Linked DNA regions of Homo sapiens: regions 1 and 2 are each linked to region 3. Evidence: promoter capture Hi-C in 16 types of primary human blood cells and fetal thymus (Javierre and others, 2016). All regions are on one chromosome and are shown on one strand. The core of a region is centred on a gene start or on the middle of the fragment in contact, and the rest is flanking DNA. Distances in the headings are between cores, read along the strand shown. Region 1 overlaps PPP6R3 (protein phosphatase 6 regulatory subunit 3). Region 2 overlaps PPP6R3 (protein phosphatase 6 regulatory subunit 3). Region 3 holds the start of MRPL21 (mitochondrial ribosomal protein L21).

Region 1 (4,165 bases), core at 315-2,814, 330 kb after region 3:
CTACTATATAAGCATATTAAACACTTGGAATAGCTGTAGCCCTCACAATACTACAAAGCAAAACTCCCTATCAGAAGGACTTAAGACTAAACGGAAGTGGTATTTAAGAAAGGGCTCGGGAATAAAGAATTGAAGAAGTATTTAGATCCACCTGAAAGTCTCAACAGACAGCAAAATTCTGGAGTGGGGCTAACTCAACAGGGGATATAGGTAATGTTAAAGGGCCCTATCAATCTAACCACTTTTGCTTTATAAGCCAACTTATGATTTTGTTTGACTTTAGATTATGCAGTCCGAGTATGATGGCAGAAAAGCAGAGCAAGCAAAGAAGAACCGAGACGCAATCTGAGTGACAGATGGAGCCCAAAATAATTTTTTTCTAACACAGTCTACCAGGGGCTGAACGTTTTATTTTTGCGGGATGACCACACCCTTCTATGGGGATATATGTAGTAACATTTACACACAATCCCAGAGCAGATCTGCTGACAGCATACTATACAGTAAGTGAGCATTATCTGAATTGTAATGAAGTCCTTCTTTATTACAGAACTGCTCACAAAAGAAATATGCTTGAGTTACCTAAGATAAAAACAATTGTTTAAAAGTCTGGTAACAAGCTTAATTGGACATTTTTGACTTCTAACTTTTAAGCCAATCAAAGGATAATTTTAAAAGAAGTTTCCCAAACAAAATCAGATTACTAAATATTCCTTTATAAGACAAGACAATAGTCCCCTTAAAAGAGACTATATTGCCTGCAAAGGAATCAACGTGGGAACCTCCAAAATTAAGCAGTATGATTTAACAGTATGGGAGAGGACAATTCCATTCTACAAAAAAAACCCTGATTATCCAGAACACTCAAGTTAAACGATAGTCCGAGTATCTATCTACAATGGGTAAAATATTCATTAAAAATGACTTAACCCTTCCTTGATGACCCAGGGCTGTCAATACTAATGTCATTTTCTCTGCTGGGCTGTGGTACACAGAGACACTCGGGCTATTAGGCCTTAGGTCTATTTTAATTAAATGGCCCCACATAGCTTCCTTTTAATAGTTACCTCAACTTCATAATTCTTCCAACTCTTAATACTTCCTAATTCTATCATTATTCCCCGCTTAAAAAGTGTGACTCTGTCAGGAGTCTGGAAAAAGATGACCATATTTTTAGGCAATCTACAAAGTAGGGGGCACAGCCCTCCAGGGAGTGACACAGGAGGACCAAGTGGCTGCTCTCTGGCTTTCAGAGCCTGCTTCCCTGTTGCTTCAGGCTGCCAGATCATTGAATTCCTAACAGTCAAGGTGTTACTGCATATTAGAAATTCAAGACTGCCACTGCCAAATTTGAAATATAGAATTAAACGCCAAACATAAACACTTCAATGTCGAGTCACGTGCTGCTTCTGTCTAAGCAAAGGCCACCCCTCGACTATCAGCTGGCATGTACTTGTAAAAGGAAATGCTTTCCCCATCTTTAAAAGCAGAAAAAAGCAATACTTACCTTAAAACTTAAATGTGTTTAAAAACCAAAAAATACATTCCAAAGTCCAATATAATTTTTAAAAAAATTATCAATGCCATTATTCCCTGGCTCAAAGTCCCAATTCTGGTAAAAAAATTTTAAAGCTGGGGTTTCAAAGTCATCTACAAAATATTCCCCCATTGGGAATGATGTAAAACGAGGGTATACTCAACTCAATAATATCAGAAAAATATCCAACTGAATCTTTCGCTTTCCTAAGCACCCAGGGTTATCAGTGGCATGTGGCCACAAACCCAGCAGAATGAAAGGAAGGCAAGAGGCTGTTGAGGTGCTCGGCAGCAGGGCATGGAGGGAAATGGACACTAAGTAGGATGTGGAGCAGAAATCAGTGACTTCTCAATATCCTTCTGTCATCCCAGGCAGGTAATTAGGAGTGGACTAGACAAATGGGCAAGAATATTGTGAATACTGACCTCTCTCCCTGGTAAAGAGATAAGAATTTATCTTTGGCTCACAGTTACTGAGGTAAATGGAAGATCTTTTACATCTTTCTGAATAAATGGGCAAAGGCTAAGAGCACTGAAAGAATAAAAATGTAACCTTGTAAAACCTACTAGATCTACCGTGTTCCTCTTGTTAGTTTCTCCTAAGGAGCTTGTGCAGAACGTCTCCCATCGTTCCCTGACTTCGTCGGGAAGATCTTCAGAGTGAGAAAAGCAAAAAAGCATTATCACCACAATGACCTCCACGGAGACAAATAAAGTAAGCAGGTAATATAAAAGTGGGCCTACTCACCTGGTTCATCAATGGTGAGCAGGCCCTATCAGCTGAGAAACTGGGTGACAGCCAGCCCAGTGCTCTTAGAGAAATGGAATTATTAAACCTTCCATAGGCCCAAATCCCATGGACTTTCAGGAACCAGAATCCCCCTACCCAATGGTATAGGCTTGATGAGGCCAAGAGCCCTAAGGTAGCTTGTGAACTTAACAAGTTTCTGAAAATGCTCTGGTAGAAGCTTAACCTGGAAAGTGTGTTTCCAACAAGCTTTTCTGAGAAAGGTGGTAGGTGTTTAACGTGTCGGGGGTAGGGGGATCTTTTTCCATGGTCAAGTTAAGTCTAGAAAATGCTGCAAATGACAGCTCCTGCACACTTTCTTGAAATGCTCTCATTGGCAGCTGGCCAATGAATGTTCCACAGAACCTAGTATGGCTTTTCAAATTGCTCTAAGATCATGTTTCCTAAATATTTGTGTCATGGGCCAACGTGGATACACAGGTAATAGTGAAATTCTACCTTCTAGAGAAATGTTAAAGAAAAGGATAAACAACTGCTTTTCTGAGAAAATCAAACCATGACGTAATTTTAGAGGCCTAACTAGTCATCTGATAATTCTGGTTTAAAACAGCCATGCATGTGTGCACACTCACAGAAGTGTACACATGTACCACCTGGCAAGCAGCTTCCATAAAGGAAAGTCTGATCTAAAAACTCAGTCATATCACATGGCCATTTCTTCTTAGTTAGGACATAAAGATAAACTGTGTGGTGAAATGGCCCAAGGAAGAGGCTTATACCTCTTATGCCTCTCTCAAGAAGCAAAATTAGAAGTGGGCACACACCACTTTTTCCATCCCTGGTGACAACTGTGGTTTTAGTGCACATTCAACAGGGAATAGCCTCTTGAACAAACAAACATTCTTAAGAAAAAATGGAAGACCCACTGGGAAATGATTTTAACTGAACAAATTCTGTACCATGGATGTTAAAGACTGTTCACATTCAGAATAGGTCTCAGGATTGGTAATCCTGTTGGTACAAAAACCCAGAGTACACAGTTCTCTCATTTTAGAAGAAGGCTCATGGCTTGGGGCCAGTGTAAAAAAGCATCCATATAGTTTCTTCCAAATAAGCTTGGGCTGATTAAACTGAAATGCTATACAGAAAGAGTCCTTTAGAAGCCAATACCCCTCATTTTAGTGACAGCGACATCAAAGAAATGCTGATAAATGCCCTAATATTCCAGTTAAAGAAACTTAATTCAGAGGCTATATAGAGGCCTTCAGAAAATAAAAGGCAAAATTATAGCTGAAGTGGCTCAACTGCTAGCATATGAGTACTTCACACTCACAATACTCAAAAGCATGATTCACCAAGCAATGCTCTTTAAGAATGACAATAGGTGACTCTTATATGCTGAATCCAGCCAAGCCTGCCAATGCTTATGGAATGGTCTGTAACTACATGAACATAAATACAACCAAAAAACAACACTGTTCAAACACATTCTCAAGAACCTCATTCAAATACATAATTTGCCAAATATAAAGAAGTCCCACAAATCACTATTAAAAATGCTACATGCATTTCTACTTGACCCTTAAATCCTTCCTGCAACCCAACAAAAATGTAATTCAAATTTCACAAATAACTTACCTTTGATAAGCTGCTGCACTAATGCACTGTTGGGGCCCTTGTCAGTGCTGTGCACGATACAGTTAGCTATCCTCGTTAGGTGTCCCATGTAACCATGCCGTCTTCCTCCCTCAGCCCTGACAAGAGGTAAAGGACAAATACTCAGATTCCTGATAGGATGAAGTGATGAAACACTCGGTAAATACTGCGGACTTTTAAACAATCATTTTAAACCCTGAAGGCACTGAAGAAAATGACGATGGA
Region 2 (4,250 bases), core at 1,039-3,538, 290 kb after region 3:
CCCAGCAGTCAGTGGGATGAAGCAAGACACTGTTACCTTGGGTAGGATGGAGAAGCCACCAGGTCCATACCACAGAGGCCACAGTGGGATGGAGAAGCCACCAGGTCCATACCACGGAGGCCACGTGTGCCACCAGTGGAGCCAAACCCTGGCCATGGCTGGCAAAACTCACCACCAGGCGAGACCAGAGCATATTATCTACCAGTAATCCCCGAGGTCCAACGCCATTCAAGTCAGGCAGCCCTGAGGCAAGCAGGAGGAGCCCTGTCCTCTGGGGGTGCTGCTTCCAGAGGAGGCCCAAGGACAGTCTCTTCAGAGAGGGGCTCACCCGGGAAAGGGGGTTCCTGAGGAGGCGTGCAAAGGTCAAGGGACCCACCCTTGCCACCTGTCCCAGGGCTTACTGCTGACTCCACTGTCCTGGGAGTGCTGGAATCTCCACACCACTTAAAATGAAAAAGGAAATCAGAAATAATAAGGCATTAGACGTTTGATTCTTTTATTTCCATATGCAATGTAATGTTTAGGCACGCTGCTTGGGATGCTACTTCTAAAAAAATTGTTGGCCATTTTTCAGAATATCCTTTTGGTTTTAAATACTGGTCAGGAAAAACAAATGATGTAAAAATACGTGAATAATTTTCTATTACAGAAATGAAAAACTGATTTGCATCTAAAAGTGCAAGAGGTGAAGTAATTTAACCCTTTCACCAGACGATATGGCAATATACAATATATTGCTTGAGCTGTTTGAGAAGGCTGTGATGTATTTTTGTATTGACATAGAAAATTATAAATTACATTGAATTAGTATCCATAATCACTATATATATACACAAACCAGTTCTAAAAAAATACACTGGTTTAAATTTATGAGTGAAAACCTCACAAGGTACAGTAAACAATTAGCATGCTTCGGTGCCAGATTTTGATTTCTACTTTTAAAATACTAGCCTGTAAAATGAACGCACTCTAATTCCATTAGCAGCACGAGCATTTTCAACTGACTTGCCTAATAGGATTTATTTTAGGTCTGTTAAATATGCAGATTGCTCTGAAATGTTCATTGGTGATGCTTGTTAACAAGGTAAATTTTGGTGAATGGGTTAAAAGGCAGATGAACTACCAAATGAAACAAAAAAACAAACAAAAACAAAAGCCAAAAAAAAAAAAAAAAAATCCCAAAACACAAGCCATATACACTCCAAATAGTCTAGTGTTTCACTTGTAGGAATAATCATTTCAAGCAAACAAGACTTGAACAGAACATATGGCTTTACGATAACATCAATTTATCAACTATGATGTAGCAATAAATACTTTACTTAATCTCTACCAATAGACTTACATTTTTGATCCGTTTTAAACAATACAGAAAACAATTACCAATCAAAAACTGGTTATAAAAAGAACACCAAATATTTCTTATTCAAAATCACTTTTGTAAGTTAGAACAACCAAAATAACACTTAGAGGGCATTTTCATTCTACAACTCCTTGTCGGCCTGGAGGAAAAATGAATTCATAATTTTGTACAAGGTGAAAAATGTATGAAAACCGCCTAATACTTTGGTCACACTAATAATTGTCAAAGTTATGTTTCAAATACAATAGATCTGTGTATTCACTTTTATAAAACTATTCTTACAGCCATTTTAACTATAGTATTACTACTATTATTACATGGGTGGCAAGATCTTATTTCACAGGCTACCCATTATTTAGAACAATACAATATAAACATACGCAAAAATTCTTGGTATTTGTCAATGTGCAATATTTTTACACTTCTGAATTTCTCTGTACAATGTCTTAGAATCTAGAATATAAAGGTTGCTGGTCCTGATCCCTTGCAGAGTGAGTGCAGCAGTGACAGCTTGGTGGGCTCCAGCTGACCCCTCCAGAGCCCCTGAGTGGTGGCGGTCTGCAGTCCTCAGTCAGCAGCAGCAGACGTCACCCGTCATACAGGGCCATTCACTGAAGTGTCACCTGGTGCGCTTGGTTGGCCAGTCCTAAGGAGCAACAGACAGGCATCGGAGGCACTTGCAGCAGAAATATGAAAAACAAAACCTACTTAGCTGAGCTCCCCAAGGGCAGGGACAACTTATTTTAACATTGTTTTGAACTTAGTAAGTTTTTAATAAAATGATATGTAAATGAATGGAGCAAAAGCTCTAGAAAAATCTGAGTGAGTGCATCTAAGCTTCATCACCGGGTGAGCAGGCATTCAGCAAGGGCAGCAGCAGAGCAAATGCTCTGGGAGAACCGCCCCACCGCGGCCTCCAAGAAGCACAGGGAGTGACTAGGTCAGTGGGGTATAAACTGTGGCTTCCAGAGCCTTCAGGAGCTATGTGTTCACCGCTCCTTCAAGAAAGCTTTTATGTGACCCACAGATTGGAATCCACATACTATTTCACTTGGAAACAGGATTCTGCTACTAGGAAAGGGGGGAAAAAAGGAAAGGAAAGGAGGTTTGCAAATAAACTACTGGAAAAAAAAAAAAAGGTGTCCACTTGAAGAACATGTCCCACAAAGCAAATGTTAGGCTCAAAACTGGGAGGGAATAACAGGTGGGACAGTATATAACAAAGTGTCCAGGTTTTGCCTTCCTGCCAAAATTACAACCTGAATATATAACCTATTCGGGAAGGCTTGACCAAAATTGTATCAAGCAGACTTGGGAAAGGGTGCTTAGGGCCGTAACTGGGATGCCCACAAGCACTTTTCCACTAGCATTCACAATTTACAGCTAGAATGCTACTCATGCCTTATACCTGCTGGTTATACAGTGAGCCAAAAAGTCAGCTCTGCACACACAATCCACTCTGCTCACTTACTTACATCTGATGGTGGCTCCGTGTATGAGAGACATAGGAATCGAGACTTCTGGAACTAGACATAACTGGTATATAACTAACTTGCCTTCACTTAAACAAGCTGAGTGATCTTATAAGTAGATTTCTTAGCCCCTCTCAGTTCTGTTTTCTCCTCTGTAAAATGGGAAAAGAACCCTCCCCACGCCCCACAGGGCTTCACTAGTATACATATGAAATAAGTACATAATGTGTGCAGCATGCTCAGCACATCAGAAGCACAAAGGACATGCTTGATAAAACAGCTGTGAAAAGTGAGATCATGTGGCAATGCAGATCTTTAAGTGTGACAGGAAACAGCGCGCCTGCCAATCCAAGGAACTGTGGTATCTGGCTGGGACGGGAACCACACAGGAAAGACGGGTGAGCTTCAATATCCCATGCTGTCATACGTCACTTTAGAACACGTGCAATCTAGGACGCACTCTAGGTCTGCCCTAATGCCCACTCCAACGTCACCTCAGAGATCCTCTCCCCCGCACCCCAGCTCACATGGACCCCTGTCCCTTCTTCGTGGCTTCTTGATGAATGTGCCTCTAGTATGCCCCGAGACCACTGGGTGTCCGTGTGCTGCAGCTTTATGACCCGGCCTAGACCAGTGGCCACCACACACAAACGTGTGTCAGAGGAAAGAAGGACAGATGGATAAAGGCATGGACCCAAGTGATGCCCCTCTTCTTCCACTGGCTGACCCCATCTTTTCCTCCATCCCTTGGCCCGGCAGGTTAGGGCAGGGCTCTTCAGAGCAGGCATTCCCAGCCACAGAGGAGAGCAAGTGGCTTCCCCTTATGCAAACAATTCTTCTGTGCTCAGAAAGCCAAGGAAATGACTCCAGAGCCTTGTGCATCCTTATGACAGAGAAACCAAGAATATTCCCCTGAAGCAACTGCCCCAAACTGGGATAGACCTGGACGATCCTGCCTAGGCAGCCCTCAATATAAAGGAAATTTATAGGTAGAAATCAGAGAGCTGAAATAATTGATTGGGAATGAGACCTATAAAGGACCATTAAAAAATACATTGAAACCCCAAGAAAGAGAGTGACTTGCCCAATCCGTAGAAGCAGAGTTGAGGCAGCTTCCCAGTGCTAGAGGGCCACCCTGCCTCTTCCCCCAAAAGCCTTCACTAGAGCCAACATGCTCAAATAGTTCTTAATTTGTTTGTTTTATATGCAAAAAAAATATTTCTAATCACAAAAACAAAGGCTTTATTTTGGCTACAATTTCCACAGGAGGAACACAAACAGCTTGCTACACTGTGAATACAGGATTTTGGACCAACAAAGAGTGCTCCCTGCTGGTTCCCACTGGTTATGCTCTCATACAATGCTGGCAAGATTTGGGGGAGGATGGGGTGGGGGTGGGGGGTTAAAACTTCTCT
Region 3 (4,662 bases), core at 313-2,812:
CATCCCAGTTTTACAGATGAAGTAAGTAAGGCTCAGAGACAGAACCTGCAAAGTCACACAGCCATAAATGAAACAGCTGGGATTCTAAGAAACTCAACATAACTGCAAAAGCTCTCCATTGCCATGATCAAAAGCATCTCAGACAAATCCTACCCACATATGGCTGACTGCAAACTCTGGAAGCAGACTGCCTGACAGCAAATCGGGCTACACTGTGTCACCCCGGGGCAAGTTACTTAACCCCTCTCTGTCTCCATCTCCTTAGACGGAAAATGACAGTAACAGAAACCTACACTGCGGCCGGGCACGGTGGCTCACGCCTGTAATCCCAACACTTTGGGAGGCCAAGGCGGGCAGACCACGAGGTCAGGAGATCGAGACCATCCTGGCCAACATGGTGAAACCCTGTCTCTACTAAAAATACAAAAAATTAGCAGGACGTGGTGGCGCGCCTGTAGTCCCAGCCACTCAGGAGGCTGAGGCAGGAGAATCGCTTGAACCCGGGAGATGGAAGCTGCAGTAAGCCGAGATCGTGCCACTGCACTCCAGCCTGGGCGACAGAGAGAGACTCTGTCTAAAAAAAAAAAAAAGAAAAAGAAAAAAAAGAAACTTACACTGTAGGGTTGGCATGGGATGAGGTGTAAAAGAATTAACGCATGGAAAGTACGTAAGTGTTAGCTCTGATTGTTTTGGACAAGTAAATAGTCCCATTCGGAAACAAGCCCGGCTCTCACATGGCTCCCCACACCTCTCAGGACGGCTCCCCACCCTACTCCGCACCCACCAGCTTAACTCCAATTTTCCTTCAGGCACCACTCCCTCCTTGAAGCCACCATGACCCTCCCCAGGGAAGGGCCTTCCTCCTCCAGGCTCTTTCCCCGCGACACGCACGCAGCCGGCCCTGGACGCACTGGAGGGGAAGGGACTCTCTGCTTATGCCCAGCCCGCCGCTGGCCGGATCGGGGGCAGCCAGTGCACCTGACTCATGCTGCCGGGGCCTGACTGAGAATGGGCGCAAACCATGTTTACTGAATGAATAAGGGAAAGGGCTGCTAACTCGCTGCGGGTGGAACTGGGGTCGGGGCCAGGGCCCAGGAGTGTAAGCTTAGTGGGGGGTCTCGGGTCGGGAAATCAAAGTGCTTCTTAAGGGTCCCCAAACGGAACGCGCTGCCCAGGAAGTGATGAGACTGACAACTCGGGAGGTGGCCAAGCAGGGGACGGACGATCCCTGCCCCTGACTCGAAGGGTCGGAGACGAAATTCCCGCCCCAGACTATGAGGCCGAGCCCCTCGGAGACTCTGCCCGGGACACGGCGGGACCGACCGCGAGGGAGCGGCGCCGGCGGCCTCCCGTACCTGCGCTCCTCCACCTCCGCGTCTCTCTCAAGCTCCAGCAGGTCCAGTTGCTTGGTCACGAAGCTCTCCACAGCTGCCGAGGCCATCGCCGCCGCCGGCCTGGGCCCCTAGAAGCCGACGTCCCGCTTCTGCGCCGGGCCGGTGTTACAGCGGACCGGTGTTCCCCGCCGGGCCCGTGCGTTACGCACGCGGTTCGCGTCGTTTCCGTTTCCGGCCGAGGCTGCGGCCATGGCAGCATCTTCCCTGACGGTCACCTTAGGGCGGCTGGCGTCCGCGTGCAGCCACAGCATCCTGAGACCTTCGGGGCCCGGAGCAGGTGAGACCTGGGATATGGGAGGAAGGGAGGACGCAGAGCGAGCGCTGCTCCCTGCGGTCTCGCCACGTATGTGCCTGGGTCCGACCTGGTGCCTTGTGTGTTGATCGCATTTGTGGTGAATATAGCACGGGTTTTGGAGTCGGGGGAACCCAGGTTCAGATTTTGATTCCTTCAGTTAGTAGCCTGAATACTGACAATAGCCCTTGAACTTTGGTATAGGCCCTATGTTATGGGGGAGAAGAGTGAGGCTCAGAGGAGCTAGGTAACGTGCCCAGGGTCACACAGCGGGGAAGTGGAAGAAGAGTACTTCAGGCGCAGTCATTTCGGCTCCAAAGCCTGTGCTTGAACCACTGCCCCCAGGCTGCGAGCTGGTCTGAAAAATGGTGATGGATATCCTCGCCTAATCTGAACTCATTCTGCAAAAGAAACAGCCGTATTTAAGGCGCTGGGCTGATACGAGGCTCCAAAAAGGTTATGTCCGTTAAAAACTCTATAAATCTCTGCTTGAAAATGGTTGGAGTGTGTATTTGTGTGCATGAGTGTTTATGTATGTTTTAAACCTGGGTTTCATGTCTCACCATGACCCCCAAAAATGGAAAACTGGATCTAACTCTATATTGGACGATATTAAAAGAATAGTACCATAATTCCCAAAACTTGGAAGCAACCCAGATGTCCTTCAGGAGATGAATGGTTACATAAACTGTAGGACATCCATACAGTAGAATATTATGCAGCAATAAAAAGAAATGAGTCATGAAGAGACATGGAGGAAACTTACATACATGTTACTAAGTAAAAGAAGCCAACCTGAAAAGGGGACATCTTGTATGTTTCCCACTATGACATTCTGGAAAAGGCAAATCTAAGGAGACAGTAAAAAGTTACATGGGGGGTAAGAGGATTGGGGGAGAAAAGGATAAATAGGTGGAGCTCAGAGGATTTTTAGGGCAGTGAAACTATTCTGTATGATATAATGGTAGATACATGTCATTATAAGTTTGTCCAAATCCATAGAATGTACACTACCAAGGGTGAACCCCTAATGTAGACTATGGACTTTGGATAACAATGATGTGTCAATGTAGGTTCATCAATTGTAAAGATTGTACCACTCTGGTGAGGGATGTTGATAGGAAGCTGTGGGCACATGGACAGGGGACATATGGGAACTCTCTGTACCTTCCACTCAATTTTGGTGTGAAACTAAAACTGTGCTAAAAAATAAAGTCTATTAAGAAATTAATAATAATCACAGAGTTGGGCCAGAGGCAATGTAGATGCCAAAATTGGCCATGAGTTGGTAACTGTTGAACCTGGAAAGGGATAATTGAGAGAGTTCACTATTCTGTTCTCTTTACTTTTGTATGCTTGACATTTTCCATAATAAAACTTAGGTTTAAGTAGGCAGGAAAGTTTTTACAAAAGCAGTGGGACTTACTCCATTCTACCTACCTACATGAAACCACCCCTCCAATGCTATGTTCAAGTACAGACTCACGCATTAGGAGAGAAAGACACACAGTGAAGCGAGTAGAGACAAGGTGACCAAAACAGTGAGCAGCTGGGGCCTTGAAGAGTGAGCAAAGGAGACGTGATGGAAGTACACAGTCACAGTCTCTAGGACTACCTAAAGGAAATCCTGTGGGAGAGGAAGGAGACTGTTTGTTCCCTGGGGACCCAAAAACAAAGCTAGAAGCAAATTAGGTACAGAAGCCTGCTAAGTTTTTAATAGTGGGATGGATTTGCCAATGGGTTGACTGAGTAGTGTGCGAGAGAAGAGTCAAAACTGATGGAGGTTTGGGGCCTGAGCAACTGGGAGGATGAAGTTGCCCTCATGTGAGAGGGAGGAGTGTGGGAGAAGCAGGCATGGGAAGAAATGAGGAGCCTCTGGAGGTGTGAGGTGCTCGTCAGACACGAGTGGCTAAGGCAGATAGATAGGTGGGTATGCAAAACCAGGAGAGAAGCCCTGGCTGGAGGTGTAAACTTGGGAGTCACCAGCACATTGGGGGTGTTTAAATCCATCGGACTGGATGCAGTCACCAGAGGAATGGCCATGGGCGGAGAGGAGGTCAAGGCCAAGGGTTGAGCCCCGGATGCCCAAATGGGAGAGGAGAGGAGAAAGCAGCCGAGGAGATGCAAATGGGGAGCTGGTGCTAATGGGTGAACTTTAAAAAGGTGGTTTTTATGGTGTGTAAATTATAGCTGAGTTTCTTTAAAAGTGGTTATTGAGAAACTGTTCTCTGCTTTTTACACCTAAGCACTTATTTTGATCCCCTGTCTTCTCAGTAGATTGAATGTCTTTGTTTCCTGGTGTATTCCTGGTGTATGCGTTATCTACGGTTACATCAGAAATTACCCCAAAACTTAGCAGCTTAAAACATTTATTAACTCACACCAGTTCTGAGAGCCAGGAACACAGAAGCAGCTTAAGTGGCTGGTTCTGGCTCAGGGTCTTAGCTTGCAGCAAGCAAGTCTGCAGGGGCTGTAGTTATCTCAAGACTCCACTGCGCCAGCGGCTGGAGAATCTACCTGCAAGGTCGTTCCCATGGGTGTTGGCGATAGGCCTAGTTCCCCGCCATGTGGACCTCTAGGTAGGGCTGCTCACAGCAGGGCAGCCCTAAGGCCAGAGATCAGAAAGGGTGAGCACAGGCATCCAAGATGGAAGTCCCAGTTGGTTATCACCTCATCCCAGAAGCCACGTGCTAGCATGTCTGTCACTAGCTGTTGGACACACAGGCCACTCCCAGGGGGCTAACAGGGGTAAGAATAGCAGGAGGCGGGGCCCAGCAGGGCCATCTTGGAGGCTGCTCCCACGCTTGGGCACAGATCAGAGTCTGAACCTACCAGGCACTTAGTCAAGGCATGAGTTAGTGGACGGGTGGTTCTGGTCTCAGGCGCTTGTAGATGATGTGGCTAACTGATCTCAACACATATAACCAGTAGCTGTAAGTGACGTTCTTGTAGTTTTGCTCACCTAGGTGTTTCTGT

Evidence for each region. The method cuts DNA at HindIII sites, captures the fragments that hold promoters and counts their contacts. A CHiCAGO score of 5 or more calls a contact.
Region 1: a fragment that was not itself captured here is called in contact with the fragment with the promoter of MRPL21 in region 3 in 1 of 17 cell types (M2 macrophages); the score reaches 5.6 in M2 macrophages.
Region 2: a fragment that was not itself captured here is called in contact with the fragment with the promoter of MRPL21 in region 3 in 2 of 17 cell types (total B cells and naive B cells); the score reaches 5.8 in total B cells.

The regions. Positions count from the first base shown.
Region 1 is chr11:68,573,982-68,578,146 of GRCh38, reverse strand. PPP6R3 (protein phosphatase 6 regulatory subunit 3) reads right to left here. Exons shown (of 24, transcript NM_001164161.2): 13 at 3,923-4,038; 14 at 2,104-2,189. Among named protein-coding and RNA genes, the nearest start is that of GAL, 110 kb to the left of the region's middle. The HindIII fragment of the contact is 1,884 bases long and covers 623-2,506 here.
Region 2 is chr11:68,610,825-68,615,074 of GRCh38, reverse strand. It overlaps PPP6R3 (protein phosphatase 6 regulatory subunit 3), which reads right to left. Exons shown (of 24, transcript NM_001164161.2): 24 at 1-2,009. The coding sequence ends at 1,958. Among named protein-coding and RNA genes, the nearest start is that of GAL, 72 kb to the left of the region's middle. The HindIII fragment of the contact is 172 bases long and covers 2,203-2,374 here.
Region 3 is chr11:68,900,732-68,905,393 of GRCh38, reverse strand. It overlaps MRPL21 (mitochondrial ribosomal protein L21), which reads left to right and starts at 1,562. Exons shown (of 7, transcript NM_181514.2): 1 at 1,562-1,671. The coding sequence starts at 1,584. It overlaps IGHMBP2 (immunoglobulin mu DNA binding protein 2), which reads right to left and starts at 1,503. Exons shown (of 15, transcript NM_002180.3): 1 at 1,356-1,503. The coding sequence starts at 1,441. RefSeq lists enhancers at 1,021-1,080, 1,411-1,530, 962-1,689. The HindIII fragment of the contact is 5,018 bases long and covers 1,107-4,662 here.